Regions from separate parts of the Homo sapiens genome. Here all the other regions are linked to region 6. Evidence: promoter capture Hi-C in 16 types of primary human blood cells and fetal thymus (Javierre and others, 2016). All regions are on one chromosome and are shown on one strand. The core of a region is centred on a gene start or on the middle of the fragment in contact, and the rest is flanking DNA. Distances in the headings are between cores, read along the strand shown. Region 1 overlaps ATF7IP (activating transcription factor 7 interacting protein). Region 2 overlaps RERG (RAS like estrogen regulated growth inhibitor). Region 3 overlaps RERG (RAS like estrogen regulated growth inhibitor). Region 4 overlaps ATF7IP (activating transcription factor 7 interacting protein). Region 5 overlaps RERG (RAS like estrogen regulated growth inhibitor). Region 6 holds the start of WBP11 (WW domain binding protein 11). Region 7 overlaps ATF7IP (activating transcription factor 7 interacting protein).

What was found. The method cuts DNA at HindIII sites, captures the fragments that hold promoters and counts their contacts. A CHiCAGO score of 5 or more calls a contact.
Region 1: a contact is called between a fragment that was not itself captured here and the fragment with the promoter of WBP11 in region 6, in 2 of 17 cell types (total CD8 T cells and naive CD8 T cells). The highest score is 7.5, in total CD8 T cells.
Region 2: a contact is called between a fragment that was not itself captured here and the fragment with the promoter of WBP11 in region 6, in 1 of 17 cell types (megakaryocytes). The highest score is 5.2, in megakaryocytes.
Region 3: a fragment that was not itself captured here is called in contact with the fragment with the promoter of WBP11 in region 6 in 1 of 17 cell types (megakaryocytes); the score reaches 6.9 in megakaryocytes.
Region 4: a contact is called between a fragment that was not itself captured here and the fragment with the promoter of WBP11 in region 6, in 3 of 17 cell types (naive CD8 T cells, fetal thymus and neutrophils). The highest score is 6.3, in naive CD8 T cells.
Region 5: a contact is called between a fragment that was not itself captured here and the fragment with the promoter of WBP11 in region 6, in 1 of 17 cell types (fetal thymus). The highest score is 5.7, in fetal thymus.
Region 7: a fragment that was not itself captured here is called in contact with the fragment with the promoter of WBP11 in region 6 in 2 of 17 cell types (naive CD8 T cells and activated CD4 T cells); the score reaches 5.6 in naive CD8 T cells.

The regions. Positions count from the first base shown.
Region 1 is chr12:14,412,819-14,415,518 of GRCh38, forward strand. All of the region lies in intron 1 of ATF7IP (activating transcription factor 7 interacting protein), which reads left to right. Among named protein-coding and RNA genes, the nearest start is that of ATF7IP, 48 kb to the left of the region's middle. The HindIII fragment of the contact is 218 bases long and covers 1,321-1,538 here.
Region 2 is chr12:15,212,878-15,215,717 of GRCh38, forward strand. All of the region lies in intron 2 of RERG (RAS like estrogen regulated growth inhibitor), which reads right to left. Among named protein-coding and RNA genes, the nearest start is that of RERG, 7.1 kb to the right of the region's middle. The HindIII fragment of the contact is 2,345 bases long and covers 115-2,459 here.
Region 3 is chr12:15,122,201-15,125,095 of GRCh38, forward strand. All of the region lies in intron 2 of RERG (RAS like estrogen regulated growth inhibitor), which reads right to left. Among named protein-coding and RNA genes, the nearest start is that of RERG-IT1, 9.0 kb to the left of the region's middle. The HindIII fragment of the contact is 3,565 bases long and covers 1-2,895 here.
Region 4 is chr12:14,377,453-14,380,152 of GRCh38, forward strand. The region is part of intron 1 of ATF7IP (activating transcription factor 7 interacting protein); the gene reads left to right. Among named protein-coding and RNA genes, the nearest start is that of ATF7IP, 13 kb to the left of the region's middle. The HindIII fragment of the contact is 2,045 bases long and covers 323-2,367 here.
Region 5 is chr12:15,193,505-15,196,298 of GRCh38, forward strand. The region is part of intron 2 of RERG (RAS like estrogen regulated growth inhibitor); the gene reads right to left. Among named protein-coding and RNA genes, the nearest start is that of RERG, 27 kb to the right of the region's middle. The HindIII fragment of the contact is 1,024 bases long and covers 1,016-2,039 here.
Region 6 is chr12:14,802,023-14,804,765 of GRCh38, forward strand. It overlaps WBP11 (WW domain binding protein 11), which reads right to left and starts at 1,456. Exons shown (of 12, transcript NM_016312.3): 1 at 1,330-1,456. C12orf60 (chromosome 12 open reading frame 60) reads left to right here and starts at 1,648. Exons shown (of 2, transcript NM_175874.4): 1 at 1,648-1,729. SMCO3 (single-pass membrane protein with coiled-coil domains 3) reads right to left here. Exons shown (of 2, transcript NM_001013698.2): 2 at 2,628-2,743. RefSeq lists an enhancer at 1,752-1,991. The HindIII fragment of the contact is 2,157 bases long and covers 982-2,743 here.
Region 7 is chr12:14,396,784-14,399,622 of GRCh38, forward strand. All of the region lies in intron 1 of ATF7IP (activating transcription factor 7 interacting protein), which reads left to right. Among named protein-coding and RNA genes, the nearest start is that of ATF7IP, 33 kb to the left of the region's middle. The HindIII fragment of the contact is 6,932 bases long and covers 1-2,839 here.

The sequences.
Region 1 (2,700 bases), core at 180-2,679, 390 kb before region 6:
GCCTGGCCAACATGGTGAAACCCCGTCTCTACTAAAAATACAAAAATTAGCCAGGCTTGGTGGTTCACACCTGTAATTCTAGCTACTCAGGAGGCTGAGGCATGAGAATCACTTGAACCCAGGAGGCGGAGGCTACAGTGATCTGAGATTGTGCCAGTGCACTGCAGCCTGGGTGACAGAGAGGGACCATGTCTCAAAAAACAAACAAAAAGTTGTTTGACTTTTATTTCATTTTCTTGCCTAATTCTCCTGGCTAGAACTTCTAGTTCAATGCTGACTAGAAATGGTGAGGGCAGATATCTTTTGTTCTGATCTTAGGGTGAAAGATTTCAGTCTTTGACCATTAAGTATGATAGCTGTGGGTTTTTCCTTGGTGCCCTTTATCAGGTTGAGGAAATCCTCTTCTATTCTTAGTTGGTTGAGTGAATTCTGCTCTTAATTGCTATGTTAAATTAAGGATGAGATAATTTAATACTTAGAAAGCTGCTGGTAATACTCTTGTAGCTAATACATGAAGCAGTCAGCAGGCTGGTGAAATTGGGGAGGGAGTCTACTCTCAGGTCTCATTTACTGAGTAGATAGGTATTACCAGTGATCTTAAATGGCATCTCCATTTTCAAAGAGATAAAGAAGACAATTGCTGAACATTCTATTAAAATGGTACCAAAACTTAAATGATGAAATGCATAAGAAGGGTTCCTGTGCTGAAGAAAACAACTTGGTACTGAATTGGGTGTCTGCTTTACCTTACCAAGTTAAAATTACTATTTGTGTAATTATTGATAGTAATATAATTATTGATTTATTAATTCACATCATATGTAAAGTTGAAATTAATATAAATTATCACATAAACTAATGAGAAAAGGATATGTTTTGTTATAGTGACTCACATATATTATTCCTCGATAAGCATCAGTTTCTTTTTCTCCTTTCAAGGTGTGTAATAAAAGGGTTTTTTTTCAAGGTGTTAATAAAAGGCAGAATTTATAAGGCATGGTTGGGAATAATAAACATCAAATTCAAGATTATGCTTATCTTTGCATTTAGGAGTCAAGAATGGAGAAGAAGGAGTAAGCTGTTGTGTTGTACAGGGCACTTTATTTTTATTTCATAATAAAAAATTATATGTGTCAGTATAGCTAAAACTTGAGCTAGAATGGAACTTAGCAAGCATCTGCCCTAACTTCTTCAGTTTTACAGTTGAGGAAACTGAACTCCAGAGAGTTAAATTGATTTATTCTATGGTGGTTGTATACTAATGTTAGAACATGGAATAGAACCTAGTTTTGTTAGTTCAGAAGTCTTTTTGTTATGCCAAGCTTTTTAGAATATGTGTATTTTAAAGTGTGATAGTTTGCATGATATTTTATAATTATACTTCTTTACAGCAAGAGGATTATATGTCCCTACCTTTTGCCATGTGACATGAGGTGTTTCCCCTTGGGAGGTTTTTTACTTCCCATGCCCTTAGTGACTTAATTTGGTTTTAGCCAATGGAATGTGAATGAAAGTAATGTACACCATGTCTAAGCAAAAGCTTTAAAATAAGCTTGTCCTGCCGAGGGCCCACAGGCTGCATAGAGCCCAGGGCTGTTTTGAATGTAGCCAAACACAAATTTGTAAACTTTCTTAAAACATTATGAAATTTTGTTTTTCAGCTCATCTGCTATCGTTAACGTATTTTATGTGTGACCCAAGACAGTTCTTTCATTGTGGCCTAGAGAAGCCAAAAGTTTGGACACCCTAGCTAAAAGCTATTGTATACTGTATATCTCTGTCATATTGGTCTTTTACCTCTGCCACAAGGCCTAGATGGGGTGAGGGGGTGCTGTTCCTTCAGCCTGGTGTCCTAGAATAATGAAAAAGTATACAGTTATTAGCCAGTGAAATTTTATTGTTGTTGCTGCATTATCATCTAGTAAAAGGTGACTGACACAGAAAGTTAGCTGTCCAGCTTTTCTCTTTAGGTTGGGTTAATAAGAAAAGTAAGAGTTATTTCCAGGCATTTGAAGGATTTACATCTTTCAGCTCCTCATACCTCATTCTGGGTGTTTTACTTCACCCAAGCAAAATGTGAAAAGTACGTTTGGACAAATGATTTCTACTGCTGGTTATTTATTTATTTTTTTAATGAGACCTGGTCTTGCTGTGCTGCCCAGGTTGGTCTCTACCCTTTAGGCTCAAGCAGTCCACTGCCTCAGCCTCCCAAGTAGCTGAGATTACAAGTATGTGCCACTGCGCCCAGCTCTGGACAAATGATTTCTTAAATGCCTGTGGAGATAAATACAAGACCTTCTGTAACTTCACTCCTTATCTGCATAGGGATAGTAGAGTTTGGCAAGCTAGTGAGTAGGGCCTTGATGGAAAATTGGCCAATTTTCTAAGGGGGTGTAATTTGCTCTATGTATTCTAAAATGGCATTTGTTGGATCAGGTCATTTAATTTTATTTTGCCCATGTAACACAATGATCCCAAAAATTGACTTGGAGAAGTAATTTTAAGGTATCTTATGTTTTTATCATGTGGACCATTCCAAAATTTCTGAAAACATAGCACTGAATGCAACAAGAAGTTAGATTGTAGTGACAGTTCTGGCTTTGATGTAACCAAACTTTTAAGGACATGATTTACTCCTGCCTTGTCTGGGGAATTGTTGGTAACCTTGTCTAGGGAATTGTTGGTAAAGCAAACTCCCAG
Region 2 (2,840 bases), core at 37-2,536, 410 kb after region 6:
AAAAAAGCTTTTAAAAACTTCTTTATAATTGACAGAGAAAAAAGCAGACAAGAAAAAGAACAAAAAATAGGATGAAAAATCACTTCTCTTTGTGCCACGGAAAAAAATATCACAAGCTTGTTTGTGTTTGGCATCCAGTTTATAGCTTGGCAATCTGAGTCTATGAACTTAAGCCTTCATGGATGAGTGCACCAATTGGCTTTTGAATTACAGGATAGCATTACTCAATTAACTTTAAGACTAGCCCTTTCAAGCAATATAGTTAGCTGTGGCACACAATATTTCAGTTCTAAAATGAGAATGTCAACTGTGAAGCTAAATTTACAATTTCAGTTGTTTCTCTATCAGCCCCCTCCCACACTTACTACAAATCTGAATAATACGACTACAAGAAGCATTTAAATAAAAATGTGTGCATTCTAGGCTTATTGGCAAGTCTTATCACTTTAATTACTTGGAGCTTGTCAAAATATAGGCTGATGCACACAAGTAAGGAAATCTGTGCCTTGCATGCCACATTATTAGTGCTTCACCCTTAGCCAATGAAAGTAAATGTTTACCCGGCTGGGGCAAGAAAAGATAGAAAGGGCTGGGAAATCATGACCCTACACTTTGCAGCGTCCCCACAGAGTTCACTGTACTATCCCTATGCCAGCAAGCTCACTTGAAGACAGAACTGCAAGATAAACTTAGAAGGAACAAGAATTCCCCCAATACAGCAGACCATGTAAACACTTATATATTACACACATGTGCGTGCACATACACACATCCCTCACATGTTTTATCAGTGCTCCTTAGTAATCAGCACATTATTAAATTTTTGCCTTTGCTGACATGTCTGTGGTCAAACTGTCAATGAAAAAGTTCTGGTAAATGTTAAATTCTGTTTTAAATATAGACGGCCTATCTATCACCTGGGCTTAGGAAGCCATCTGCCACATACCAGAAGCACTTTCAAATTTAAAAGTGTTAATTTATTGGTGACACTAATATATTTCTGGCTTTTTACAAGATTAAATATAAGCCATACGAAGTATTGTTATGATCATCTGTGGTCAAGCTATAATTGACATTAACCAGATTTTAGGTTCAAGAAAGAGAAAAACAGAGAAAGTATGTGTGTGTGTGTGTGTGTGTGTGTGTGTGTGTGTGTGTGTGCGCGTGTGTGGAGTTTTTACCTTATAAGCTGTCTGACTTAGTGAAAACCAAAATACTCACTTGAATGCAAGTATATCTTTAATTGTATGTTTTCACTGTGGAACTTACAAATTAAAAAAGCATACCTTAACAAATTATAATAATATAAGCTAATTTTGAGCATTTGCAATGTGCCAGGAACACTTGCATGTAACAACTCATTCAATCCTAGTAACAACTGAGATGCTATTATATGTTCTTCATAGTTGAAGAAATCGACTGGTTAAGTAACTTGCCAAAGTTGCCAAGTTCACAGGGCAAACAAAAGCTCACACTCTTTAACTCCAAGCTATACGACTCCTCGTTAGCAAATGGGCAATATGGTCTTATTTACCCCCAATTCCTACTGGTATTAAGTGTGGGGAAAGTAGAGGGGACAGGTAAGACTTAAGCCTCTGAAACAATTCAGTGAGGAGCTACCGAATTACATTCCAGCAGGTATAATTTCTTGCAGACTTAAACAAGCAAAAGTTACCTATAAGACTGATAAAGTCTCTGCAGTAGAAAGATAAATGTGTGATACAATGATGAGGCAGAGACATCAAATAGCCATATTCACAAAGAATCAGAATCAACATAAATTCAATATTGTTGCAGTCTATTTTCAAAATTGTTGCATATGAGCCAGGTGTGGTAGGACACACTCGTAGTCCTAGTTACTGGGGAGATCAAGGTGGGAGGATCTCTTGAGCCCAGGAGTTGGTGGCTGCAGTGAGCTATGATCATGCCACTGCACTCCAGCCTGAGCGACAGAGGGAGACCCAGTGTCTTAAAATAAAATTGGTAGATATGAAGTAGTTTGTGGTCGTTTTCACTGAACTATGGAAAAAGGTTTCACAATTTTCACCCATGCATCAAACGAGTGCTACTTTTAAAATGTGAGGTGCAGTTACAGGTCTCAGAAAAATAATTTAATGTTGACATAGGAAAACACTGTCTGTTTATAGATGACAGACAAAAAGGCAATTGTTAAAGATATGTAGTCTGTCATTGTCATTTTCACCTAAATGAAAACAAACACAAATGGTGGAATGTATTCAAGGCAAATAGAGAAAACAGTCCAAAGAAGATTTGAATGTTAGAGTTGGAAAGAAACTTAGTGAGCAATTTCAACCTGTGCATTTTACATAAAATAAAATTCAGGTCAGCAGAATTTGATCTCTCTGTGCAGGTGTTATCTTCAGCTTTGGGTGTGAGTAGCACTTCTAGGGGCAGTGTATGGAGTAAGGACGCAAGAGGATGATATATAGAACCCTGGAAGCTTCAACTTTGAGAAGTGCGCAGACGAAGAGCAAACCCATGAAAACAGCTAGTTAGGAGCTACGGAGAGAGAGCAGCAAAGCCAAAGAGTGTGATGTCATGGGAGCCTGGGAAGGAAGGAATTTCAGGAAAGAATAAGCAGCTGTGTGATGATAGAAAGAAGTCTAAGAAGATCAGAACTGGAAAATGATCATTAGATGTGTTGGTCATTGTTTGGTAGTGACCTTAGCAAAAGCAGTTTCAGTAGCATGGTTGTAACAGAAGATGGCTATGTTTTAAGCAATGAATGGGAGAGTTAAAAAAAGATAAGACAGTAAGGGAAGAACCCATATTCAATAAGCTTGAAGAAAAGAAAAAGATGAAGCAGTGGACGAAGACAT
Region 3 (2,895 bases), core at 129-2,628, 320 kb after region 6:
AGATTCATTGTCTATCATATTTTACAGTTTTAAAATACCCATTATAATGTGTATTTTTATTTTTACTGAAATGCCCTGAATGTAGCAGCCAAAGGATACTCCTTGAAGAAATAAAACTAGTTAGTGGAAGGTCACTGTCAGTCTTTGCCTAGTCTCACTTTTAGGAAAAACAGAGGTATAACCTTCCTCCTGTACAGTTTTATATGGGAGATGGCAGTGTAAATTGCATGAGGACTTCGCAAAACAGAGCACAACGTGGCTTCTTGACCAGGGGCCGGAGATGGAAACTACCAATGTTCTTTGTAATTACAGAGTGTGAGGCTGAATTCGAGCCAAAATATTTGCAGTGCCTAAAGTAGCAAGGCCACTGACCCTGTAATACTTCCCACAGTGACTGTACTTGTGGTTTTATCTGCAGTCTTCAGAGTCTGTCATTGTCATTCTCTTGAGACTGAAACTTTTATTTTTACATACAGGAAGCAGTAAGCAGTAAACATATTTTTTCTTTTGTACAATTAGCAACATTAATAAACACCTAACAGCTTGCACGATTTAAAGAGTTCCATCTTTTGTTAGACTACGTAGTTGTTTTTTTTTTTGTTTTTTGTTTTCGTTTTTTTGACACTCTCCCTCTGTTGCCCAGGCTGGAGTGCAGTGGTATGATCTCGGCTCACTGCAATCTCCACCTTTCGGGTTCAAGCAATTCTCCTGCCACAGCCTCCCGAGTAGCTGGGATTGCAGGCGCGTGCCACCACACCAAGCTAATTTTTGTATTTTTAGTAGAGACGGGATTTCACCATGTTGGCCAGGGTGGTCTCAATCTCCTGACCTCGTGATCTGCCCACCTCGGCCTCCCAAAGTGCTGGAATTACAGGCGTGAGCCACCGCGCCCGGCCAGACTATGTAGTTTTAACACTAAAGGCTGCAACCTAGAAAACTTAATTATCTGCCATGATGAAAAAATGAGCTTAATTTTTTACATGAGCGAAGTTTACAGTTCTTCAATTCCAAAACCATTTAAATTTGAATCATTTCTCAAAATATTTAAAAAATGTATTAGACAGTCCATCAGCTTTCAAAACCAAGTATACTGAACATAATTGAATCATTTGTAAATGCCTGGATGTCAGTTAAGAACCTTGGTTAGTGCCTGTGCAGTTATGCAGCAATACTTTCTGAAGCTGTAGAGTGGAAGAGGCAAAAGAACTCTAGAGTGCTAGAGTTTTTGAGCATATATATGTGTATGAATGCTCAAAAACTCAAAAAAGTTATATATATTATTATATAAATATATATATATTCAAAACAGTTGTTTAATGTATTAAATTTAAATAATAAATATATATTCAAAATAGTTAATTTATTAAATTTAAATAATAAAATTTTATCCCAGTTGTATAATTTATTAAATTTATATAATAAATATTAAAACTTATTAATTTTTAAGTTTATTACATTATTAATACATTAATAATCTAATTTAACTATAATTAATGAAAATGGGTACTATAAAGATTGACCTAATTTCCTTTTGACTCCCTTCCCTCTCCATCCCAACTATCTTGAGCAAAGTTTGTCTTTTGAAGTAAAATGGTGGTATTGATTTAAGGCCTTGTTGCTCCAGAAGTTTTAAGGTTTGACATATTTGATTAGTAGTTACTGTTGAGTCTCTGCCTTCTGAAATATTTTATTTTCTTCCCATTGCCTGAACAACCCCTGCCTTTCCATTAAACAAGCCAAACATGTCCAATGGCTAATGTAGGGAAGACTGTTTTCCTCCTTTTGCCTAATTTACAACCTACTTGGCTAATTCTTCATCATCTGTGGTTCTGTTTTAGTATTACTGGTAGTATGAATTTTATGATTATTAATGAAAATTGGTTTCTAACAAAATGGAAAATTTGGTAAAGAAACATTTAATCCAATAAAATATTTTTAAAAGTCACTTAATGTAATCATTCAGTGGCATGATATTCCATTCATAAGTAAGAGCTAAAAGGTAAAACCACTACATTAAAATAGTCACGTTATTTCTAAAAATTAACCAATCTATGCTGGTTACTCAAAATAATTCCTGACATCATTATCAAGAAGAAGCAGGCATCAGGAGTGCCAGATTTAGTTTCAGAATAATATTTTAAAATGAAAATTAATTAGGTATGATCTGTACAATAAATCAGCTTCAGCAAGAAATGAACTCTTCAAGGTAAATGTAAACTAACACACATGCTATTCCTTATTTAAGAGTCATATTCAAGAGAGATTCAGGCAAAACTTTCAAATGCTACCTTTCAGTATCATACTTGAAAAATATGTCATTACTTTTCTTTATAGAATTCATGAAGTAACTTGATTAACAATGTATATAATGCAATTTTTTTCTAAGATACTTAAGCATATGTAACCTCCTACACAGTTGTGATTGTTCTTTTCTATAGGTCCCCAGGCATACAGCTATTGCTATATAACAAATCCGCTCCAAAACTTTGTAGCATACAACAATAAGTATTTATTATGGAAAAATGCTGGAAATTTTTTTTCCAGCTGGAAAAAGTATTATGTATTTATGGGACTGTGGTGAGTTGATTGCATTGGAAAAATGTAACTAAAAGTGTTTAAAATGGCCAGGACAGATTTTTTTTTGGTTAGGAAAAGAATTTCTGCTCCAATTAAAAGTGCTTCAAGGAATATTACTCATAACCTTCACATCATGAATGCCTTTTGAATTTTGTCTATAATCCTAGTAACATACCCTATAAAGACCCTTGATATTTAATATATACTCTACAACAGTACAACATTCATATAATAATGAAAACTTACTATGGATGTATATTAAGTGATTTATATCATTTTCATTCTGTAACCTGCAGTACCTTCACAAAAAAATACATA
Region 4 (2,700 bases), core at 95-2,594, 420 kb before region 6:
TCACGCCATTCTCCTGCCTCAGCCTCCCGAGTAGCTGGGACTACAGGCACCAGCCACCATGCCCGGCTAATTGTTTGTATTTTTAGTAGAGACGGGGTTTCACTGTGTTAGCCAGGATGGTCTCGATCTCCTGACCTCGTGAGCCACCGCGCCCGGCCTTTCTTTCTTTCTTTTTTTTTTTGACAGAGTCTCGCTCTGTCACCCACGTTGGAGTGCAATGGCGTGATCTCGGCTCACTCCAGTCTCTGCCTTCTGAGTTCAAGTGATTCTCCTGCCTCAGCCTCCTGAGTAGCTGGGATTACAGGCACCCACCACCACACCAAGCTTATTTTTCTATTTTTAGTAGAGACAGGGTTTCACCATGTTGGTCAGGCTGGTCTCGAGCTCCTGACCTCAAGAGGATCACCTCAGGTGATCCACCTGCCTCAGCCTCCCAAAGTGCTGGGATTACAGGCATAAGCCACCGTGCCTGGTCTGACTTACCCAATTTTATCCTGGTAGGCAGGAGAACAGATTCTTATGGAAACTGTGTAAACTGAGTCATAAAAAGTAAAAAGATTGAGTTATGATACTTTATACAGTATTTAATCATTGGTCTAAGCAGTTTCTGGACAAGACTGAACAATATATTCAGTATTTTTCTTTTTCTTTTTTTTTTTTTTTGAAATGGAATCTTGCTCTGTCGCCCAGGCTGGAGTGCGGTGGCATGATCTTGGCTCACTGCAACCTCTGCCTTCAGGGTTCAAGCGATTCTCCTGCATCAGCCTTCCGAGTGGCTGGTATTACAGGCACATGCCACCACGCCCAGCTAATTTTTGTATTTTAAGTAGAGATGGAGTTTTGCCATGTTGGCCAGGCTGGTCTCCAACTCCCGACCTCAGGTGATCTGCCTGCCTCGGCCTCCCAAAGTGCTGGGATTACAGGCGTGAGTCACCATGCCCGGCCCTATATTCAGTATTTTTCTACAGAATCATTCATAAAATGTTTTTGGTGGCTTCTTTAGCTTATAACCTATATTAAAACCTTTCACAGGATATTTTTCTCCCTGATCTCTGAGGGGGAAAGATATTACTATTTCTATAAAGTATACCTTAAGTTGGGGGTTAGAGATAGATTGAGATGAAAGTATTGTTCTCTTATGACCATTTAAAATAAAATGTTAACCACAATTAAATCATTCATTTAGTCTTAGGTAATTCTTCTTTTTTTGATCTTGTGTTAAGCAGCCTACTTACACAGAATTGACTGGTTTGTACAACATAATCATGAAAATCATGACCCATTCCCTTGATACAGTTATGACAGTTGTTGACTCATGATGTCAACTTTATACCAGGATGCCTGCATCCATGAGTCTCTTCCATGTAAATAGCAATAGTTAAGACGATTTGGTACAGTTACTAATAATCTTTGATATTTATTTAAAAGACTTAATTTATAAGACACAATTCCTCAGGTATGGTGGCAGCAAAAATCTTGACTCACATTTAGTTCTTGAGTGTCATTGCTCCTGTGTGGCTTAGTTGCTCACTATATCTCGTACACAACTGTCATCCTTAGAATTTTGTACACCATTGATATAGTTTGGATTTGTATCCCCACCCAAATCTAATGTTAAATCATAATCCTCTATGTTGGAGGTGGGGCCTCGTGGGAGATAATTGGGTCATGGGCTGGATTTTTCATGAATTGTTTAGCACCATCCCCCTTGGTACTGTCCTCCACAATAGTGAGTGAGTTCTTGTGAGATCTGGTCATTTAAATAGTGTGTAGCACCTCTCACCTTTCTCTTGTTCTTGCCTCTGCCATGTGATGTGCATGCTCCCCCTTTGCCTTCCATCATGTTTGTAAATTTCCTGAGCCCCCACCCCAAGAACCCGAGCAGATACACTGTACTTCCTGTACAGCCAGCAGAATTGTGAGCCAATTAAACTTCTTAATAAATTACCCATTTTCAAATATTTCTTTATAGCAATGCAAGAATGAACTAATACAACCATCAGTGAAGATTTCCTTCACCTGTCTTCTAGGACCCTTGTTTTCCAAATGCTATGTCTTTTTATTGATTTATTCTGTCCTTGGCAGGAGAATTCTTAGAATTCTCCCTGCCTGTAGAAAGCTACACATTCTCTAGTAGCTTTTTGAGAAAGGGTGCATGGGAGATACAGGTTTTAAAGACAATGCATGTTTGAAAAAGGTCATTCTATGTTTTCATGCTTGATTGATAGTTTGGCTGGGTATAGAACTCTAGGTTGAAATTCTTTTCCTTCAGAATTTTAAAGACACTGCTCCATTATCTTCTTCCTACTATTATCACCACTGAGAAATCTGAAGCCATTCTGATTTCAGATTTCTCCTCTCAGTGGAAGCTTGTAGAATTGGTTATTAGTCTTTAGTCTTATGGAATTTCAATGGAACCTGCCCTTGTGTGGATCTGTTTATTATGGTCTGCTGGCATGCTTTGGGCTCTTTGGTCTGGAAATTCTTGCCCTTCAACTCTGGAAAGTTTTCTTAAATGATTTCATTGGTGATGTATTTGTGTGTGTGTGTGTGATTCCAATTTGAATATTTGGATGGATACTCCAATTGTATCTTTTCTTCTGATTTGTAATTTTGTCTTTTTGCTAAGGTTGGTTTCTTCAACTTTATCATCCAGTCCTATTGAGTTTTTCATTTTTTTCTATCATGTTCTTAATTTTC
Region 5 (2,794 bases), core at 278-2,777, 390 kb after region 6:
TTCTATTGGAGAATTTATATCTGTGTCTGAGAACACTGTGATGGCTTTAACTCTACACTCATCCCATGCTGCCCACACTGGGGCTCTCTGTCTCACTTTTGGTTCCCTCAAAGAAAGATAAACTCAAGATGACAGCTTTAGAAACTTTTATGGGTCCACAATATAATAATGAACACATGACCATATAATATAGGAACAAGAGTGCTGTACTTAGAGCTGGAAGATATTCCTGATCATCTGGTATTTTCACTCTGGGTCTGGTTTGGATGGAAAAATATTGTAAGTAAGAGAAAGTACAAGTATAATTGCAAATGAGAGAAATCTGCCTTAGAACGCTTTGGCTATCATTTCCCCTGGATGTGTTATTTCCTAAGTTTCAGTGGTAGGTAAACGATTCAGGTTATTATTAATCCTATAGAAAGGAGCAAATTGGTGAAAAGAGGCTTGCTTCTTTTTATTCTTACTTTCCCATCCCTCCCTCCAAAAGGATTTGAATGTGAGATTTCACATTGACAGCAGGAAAAAAAAGTAAGTACCTTTACAAGAACAATCAAAACAATGACTCATGAACTCTGTGCAAGAATTTAAGATTATTTCCCTGTTTTGAGAACCTTCAGGGGATTGTGCTAAATCATATGCTGACAGGTGAAAAGGAGAGAGTGCGCAGCTGGGGGACATCTATGTTTGCATGAAAAACTTTTGCAGGGTTCAGGCTGCGCTCTAAATAACAAACACTGGTTTCCTTCAACAGCACATTCCAGGCCTTGCTGTTAGGGAGCAAAGGCAAGACATATTTAAGTATAATCGTGAATGATCATTCAGAAGTCACTGAATGGCCTCTTGAAACACTCTTTTCCTATTCTCTCACATATTGTCTGCTACTCCTCGGTTCTCAAAATATATACACTCTCCCCTCAGAACATGTGCTTTTGAAAATCAGTTTTATTAGACTGAATGTTTTTAACTTAAAAAACAAAGAAGAGGAAGAAGGAGCCCGATCTCCCTAAAAAAAAAAAGCTTGGTGTTCAATGAAATCTCTATTATGAATGCCACACTCTTCCTGCCATTCCATCATCTCAGATTCATACACTGTATATAGAGCCTTGGTGTTGCTTAAAATCTTGGAGCCCATCTCTTCCAAGAATGCTTAACATGATGTTCAGCGTTCAGATGCCAAGAAAGGAGTTCTATTTTGCTTTATTGGTTAACAACAGCAGGATCTCTTGCTGTGTCCATTTTTCACCCTCTGGTTGCTGCAGGATGTTGGGCTGAATGTGTCTGACCACTGAGAACTTAATGAAATTCACAGAGGAAATCTTACACGGGGCAATGGGTTCTCTAGGTGCAATTTCCACAACCACGTCAATATCCACTATCTCTATAAGACCAATTTCCAGGCTGCCAGATGGCACATGGTAACTGATGCCAAGGATTCAGTCCTTTATAGCCATCAAAAATTGATAGTTTTTTTCCATTTGTTTTGTTTTCTAAATGTCTATATACATTACCTTCCAGCAAACACTTTGTGGAAAGGTTTAATCTACTACCCAGAAAGCTAGAGAGCTTGTCAAATTAATGCTTGCAAAGTGGCTTGAATAAAGCCCTTCTGAACATCATTATAGTCATGGCTAATGAATAAATAACTGCTGACATGGGAAGATTCTAGATAGCCCACGAGATATGATGGCAGAGTTGAGGAGATTTCCAAAATGCCTCCAGGAATACTGCCTTGGGTAAGGTCCAAAACGACTGGGATGAGCCCAAGCTGTCACAAATGGAATGACATACAAACCCTATAAGACCATCCTGCCTCCCCTTTCCACCTCTCACACAAGTGGCACTGCTCAGAATGCCAAGGGTGCCTGATTAGGGAACGAAGAGTTGGAGCAACAGAGAGGCCATTGTTAATCTTTGCTTTCTTGCCCACTCATTTTCCTCTTGCTAAGTAGGTGGCCTTCACCCTATTCCACAAAAGATTATGTATTCCAGTTCCATAACTTCCCATGGAAAATTTCCACTTAACTTCTTAAGGCACAGCAAGCTTGGCTGTGTGTGTGTGTGTGTGTGTGTGTGTGTGTGTGTGTGTGTGTGTGTGTGCATGTGTGTGTTGTATTCTGTTGGTTTAGTTAATTACCCAAATCCATTCAGCATCTATTCGTCTCAAATTGAACTGCGGTCAAAGGATGGGAGGAAATCAGTAACTGCTGCCATATGGCACCAAACTGAGACATGCAGATACCTAGAAGTTGCATCACTAATAATAATTACATTGCTAATATGCCACCCACCTTCCTGGAAGGCTCACAGCTTTGGTTCTCATCCTGCTCCCTATTAATATCTCCAATTCATGACTTAAATCAAATGCATGAATAACTTAAGGTGAAAAGCCACTCCACCAGCTGCTTTTGTGTGTCTTGGGAAAGTTTTTCAAGCCATATGGACAAACATACGTGGAAGGGACATAGGTGTCCAGCATAATGCTCAATGGTTTGCATATGTGCCCCATCCAAAACAATACCCCAAAGCTAGGTGTGGGAACTTTGACTGCCTAAAGAGTATGATTCAATGACTTCTCTCCCTCTTTCAGGCCATTTAAAATCTGAGAAAGGCATTTCTATTCCTCTTCAAGTTTCCATGGGTAAGCTCTGCCTGGTCAACAATTTGTTGAACTGGATTCATGTTAAGTCAAATGAGAAAGCAGTCAGGTAATATCTATAGATACGTAGGAGTGAGCACATTGCCCATCCCTGTTTAACAGTATGGATGCAGCTCTATGGAAAAGGAAAGAAAAATC
Region 6 (2,743 bases), core at 206-2,705:
CAAAACACAACTAAAAATGCAAATATTTGAAATTAGTGCTATACTGAGAGCTCCCCAAAACTTAAATATTAAGACACATATTTTTCTTACTAAGACCTGACTCCCAATATATATTTCTTAAGGTAATTAAAGGGAATACTTATTTTTGTTTGAGGAAAAAATATTTTGTAAGCTAAAACTTTTATTAACACAGTACCCTATTACATGACTTCTTCCTCTTATTCCAAAATAATGGGGCTTAATTTTTTGAAGCGCAGTCTTTCCAGTAATAAAGGCGGACAAATTTGCTTCCTTTTGCAAGTAGACACTTTTTAAAGGTAAGAAAGGGAAGATTTTGTCAGCCCAGTTTATTACAGTTAATGTCTCTTTCACCAAGTGTCCAACTGCCCCGAAAGCCAGATGTTTCAGAAAGCCAGATGTTTCACAGCTGTTCTGGTGGCAATTACTTCAAGACAGCGGTATCAAAGGCTCTGATTTTTAGCTTCCTCATCTAAAAAATGGGGACATCAATTACTTTATAACAAAGCTCTGATGATACAATGAGATTACAAATAAAATATCCTGTGATGTTTGACTCACTACTTAACTAAAATCTTTATAATGGATCCATATTCCTGGCCTAGCTACCATACACCCTGTCAAGTGGTTTCCTTCTAAGAAAAACTGGGGATGGGGGGGTTAGGGGGGTGGGAGAGCAGCAGGGAGTAGGAGGTAGGGAAGGAGGAAAACAAGCAAAATCAGTACATATACAAGCTCTCCCATCTTTGATTGCCTGCGTTTTTTGTGCTTTCCTTTCTCAAGTTTCCTCAGGCTCATGTTCTGAATCTCCTCCCCCACAAATGAAACACAACGGATACGAATTACAGAGAATTTTACGGAAGACACTGGAGCTTAAGTCTGCAGATTAGTTTTTTGTCTACAAGCGGAGGCGACTGGAAAATCAAGCCAAATAAGCGTTGGATAACTCTAAACAGCCAAAGAAGCTTCAATGGGATAGGGTCCAGGTTCACCAAAGGAGGCAACACCAGCAACTGACGAAACCATAGCGACGGCTGACCGACCATGACTCGAGGTACAAGACGTCAAACCTAAGGCTACTAATCAACGTGCGTAAGAAGCGGCCCCAACCGACCCGGGCGATGCCAACCGCGCAACCACTGGTCGCCGCGCCACCCCAGGCCCAGGAATAGCCCAGTCCGCAACAGGGAGACCTCAACCAGGGAGAGGAGGAGCGGGGCAAAGGGGCTGGGTGTCCCCCAAGCCGCTGCGCGGGACGTGGAAGGGACGAAAGAGGTGAGGAAGAGTAGTAAATCAATTCAATACACTCACACTTCTGCTGTGCTCCCAGGACTACGAGAAGCGGGTAGGGGGCGACTCCCGGCCTCTTTCACTTCGTAAAGGCCTTCAACTGGGTCTCTCGGTCAACCCCTCAGCTACCGCCATCTTGAAACCTCGCGCCCCTCCGCACTCCTCACGTCATTTCCCATTCCTCTGTCCCGCCTTCTCTTAGCGCCGCTTGACCCTGGAACCATAGAGAATACCCAAGAATTCCAGGACCAGAGTCTCTTCCGGTTCCATACAATACTCAATTGGTTGGTTGTCGGCTAAGAGCCCGCCTCATTGCGCTCATCTAGTACAATAGGAATTAGAAGAAGATAGCTGCTAACTGAGTGGCTGACGGTCCTGTCTCTCGAGTTGGAGGCATCTTGACTTAGTTGCTGGGAGCCTGGTACGTTGAGCCGTCCGAGAACGGTACATTCTGCAGATAAAGAAGCGTTCTGCGTTTTCTGTCTTTTGGAATTACCTTAGTTTTTGCATTTTTCTGTTTCTTATGACCCAAGCAGGTGCGATCCTTTAGGGGTGTCTCCGTGTGTAAACGAATACCCAGATAACATTTGCCACTGAGTTTAATCCGCTTTGTAAGCATCAGGTTATCCCATGTGAGCGCCTAGTACGTGTGGAAATTTAATAGACAGGCAGAACAGAACGTTTGTAGACCACCTGAACAAATAAATTAGCACCCGTATTAGAGTCGCAGATTGCTTATATGGGCGGTGATTTATTATTTGTTAGTAGTGTTTTGAAGAAGAAATACGGGGATACATATGCAGTCGGTTTTAAGTTATATGAGTGGCAAGGTTGATATATATTGGCTATATTCCCGACTGGTCTTTTCACCAGCCAAAAGTCCTCTATGATGTCACTCTACGTACGGGATTCTTCACTTAACTCTAGCCTTCGCCCTTTCCCTACCTTCTATCCCCTCTTTCCGTGAGTCAGCCCCCACTTATTTCCCTTAAAGGTAAGTTTAAACATTTAAAAAACTATCTTAGAGGATACGCTTGGTTATTTCTAATCTTAACCTGACTATCCCATGTAGGAAGGCTATTCTTACCACCAGTTATAAATATTTCAAAATATTGATGGAGATACATACTAATTTTTAGCAGAATCTTTAAACTGCCCTTGAAGGTATAAGATCGGTCCTATACCTAAACTTACCTTTGTGTTAGGAAATTCTTGATTTGATTTTAGACTGAATTTGAGTGTCAGAAAGCAATGACGAGATATTGTAGGTTAAAGCTGATAAACCAGGTAGTACATAAAAAAGAAAATAATCTTGAACTGCGAAGGTGAGCTAAGTTGTAATGTTTTGCAACTAGTTTTTTTTCTTTCCTAACACATTAGTGATCATAGTTTTGCAACTCGTTTTGAAAAACAATGCAAGAAGAGAAAGAGAAAA
Region 7 (2,839 bases), core at 213-2,712, 410 kb before region 6:
GTTGGAGGTCATAGCAAAGAAAGATGAGGGATAGTAGGACAGAGGTATATTTTGTACATAGACAATCAAAACAAAGATAAAAGTCATGAGTATGATTACAGGCGTGGTGGCTCACGCCTGTAATCCCAGCACTTTGGGAGGCCGAGGCAGGTGAATCACCTGAGGTCAGGAGTTCGAGACCAGCCTGACTAACATGGTGAAACCCCGTTTCTACTAAAAATACAAAAAATTAGCCAGATGTGGTGGCGCACGCCTGTCATTCCAGCTACTTGGGAGGCTGAGGCAGGAGAATTGCTTGAATCCGGGAGGCGGAGGTTGCAGTAAGCCAAGATCGCACCATTGCACTCCAGCTTGGGCAACAAGAGCGAAACTCCGTCTCTAAAAAAGAAAACCAAAAACAAACAAAAAAACAAAACACCAAAAAAACAATGAGGATAAAGGTATATAGTCTTTGAGGCTATTGAAGTTGAGTGTGAATGATCCAAAATTTGGAGTATAAAAATCTTTGAGTTCCTAAAAAGTGTTTGTGTTCCTTTTAAGAAAGAAAATGTATTTAGCAAGCAATGTAGAATCTCAAAATCTTCAAAATGAAATGAACCTAAGTGGTCAGGTAGTTTCTAATATTGCACTTTGCACAGGAACCTACTGTTTGATATTCCTGACAGATAATTATCTAGTTTATACTTCACTATTTCTAATGACAGAAGGGAGAGTCTCTATTTTCATAAATCAGTTTCTTCTTTTATTGGGCATCCAAACAAATTAACATTTGTTGATTTTGAGATGAAGTTGCCTTTCATTACTTTTATTTTTGCTTCTCATAGCCCCCCACTTTCTGTCTGTCTGTAGCTCTCTTTCTCTTGTATCTCTTTTACATGACAAATATGTACTATTTAAAGAAAGCTCATTAAAATTTTCTTATGTTTTCTAGGCTAAATATCAATATCTTTTATTTTTTCCTGACATTTCCTCATACAACTTACTGTTCCAGAGCATTCTTTAGCATGGTCATCCCACAGTTATTAATAAGTCCTTCTTTATCTGTGATGCTCAGAACCAAACATAATTACTCTAAAAATTTTCCCCTTCTCCTTGGCTATTTGTTCTACAGTTTAACTTTGCATTAGCATTTTTGGCAGCCACCTTGAGATGATTTTTTGAGTTTGCATTAAGTTAAAATACCTCAGTCTTTCCCTAATATTCATTGATAAACTTTAACATACTTTAATATTTGAAACAATTGTTACGTTATTATGTTTTCTTAATAATTTCTCATGTTGTTCGTTATATTTACTATGCTTTGTGTCTGTCTTCCTTGCAAGGTTTTTTTCTGTTTTAATAGTGTTTTTAAAGAACTGGCTTTTGGTTCCTTAATTGCTTGCTCATTTGTTTTCTTTCATAATTTTCTGCTTTTATTGTAATTCCATGCTTTGGGATTATACCTTTTTGCCTTTATTAATGTTTTTGAGTTTGTGTTTTTTGTTAATATATGCATTTAAGGCTATCAGTTTTAATCTGAATATCATTTTAGCTGATTTCCCTAGGTTGTATTCTTTTAATACTTCGTTGGTATTTTATCACTGATTTCCTCCTACATCTAAAAGTTTTTTTTTTTATTTATAAGGAGATAATTTTTCTGTCATCTTGTTGGTATATTTATTACATTATGACTACAGAATATAGCCTTGTGGTTTTTTTTTTTTGTCTTTGAGTTTGTTAAGATTTTCTTGTCGCCATACACATGGTCAATATTGATGTACATTGGCTGTATTTGTGAAAAAAATTATATTTTGGGTTTATTGGGTATACAGTTCTATTTATTTTTGTTATTCTGACATGCTAATGGGTTGTTCATTGCTTATTACTTTTGTGTTCTTCATCCATAGATTTATTTCTGATTGTGAATTTATTAGTTTTTTCCTGAATTATTTAAACTTGTTTTATCAATAGGACATATCTCTTTTTTTTGTTCTATTACTTGATTTTCAACTTGAATTCTTTTTTATATGTCATATATAGGTTTTATATGTATACCTACCCTTTTTTGTGGTACTATTTGCCTAGCGTATCATTTTCTATCCTTCTGTTTCAACCTTTCTATGCTGTTACTCTAAGGTATGTCTCGTTTATAGTGCATAGCTAATGATATTTTTGTTGTTTTACACGCTTGAAACCCATCAGGTTTTTCCCTGATTGATAATTTTCTTTATTTTTGCCCCATATTCTGCAACCTGTTAGTTAACTTACACATTGCAATTATCTGGATAAATAACATATTTATTTTAAAGATGATTGATCCTCAGTTATTTCAGCCTGCTCAAGAGTTTTACTTGTTTTTTGGAGCTTTGCTAATTTCCTTATCTGAATTTCTTCATAGGTTCTTCTGCTGTCTGGTCTTGTACTTATATTTATATATAATCATTTTAGCAAAGGTCTGCATTCTCTGTCTTTGCTCAGAAGTAATATATTTATTTCCTCACTCTTGCTGACTGCTAGCTTTGCTAGCTGTAGAATTCCACAGTGAAAATAACTTTTCCCATGAATTTTGAGGATATTGTTTTTTTTTTAGCTTTCAGTATTGCTGATGACAAGTCTGATGCCAGTTTAATTCTTTCTCTTCTGTAGTTAAATGATATTCTAAGTTATTAATATTTCCCTATAATGATTTTCTGAAATCTTATTGCAGTATGCCTAGGTGTCAAAAAATTTTATTTTGCTTATTTTAATTTAGTTTGTTTTGGGATTCAATAGACCTTTATTATTGGAAAACTTGTATATTTTTTCAGCTTTGCTGATTTTTTTTAATTTTCTTATTTTTTCCCTCCTTTTTTTCTTGTTT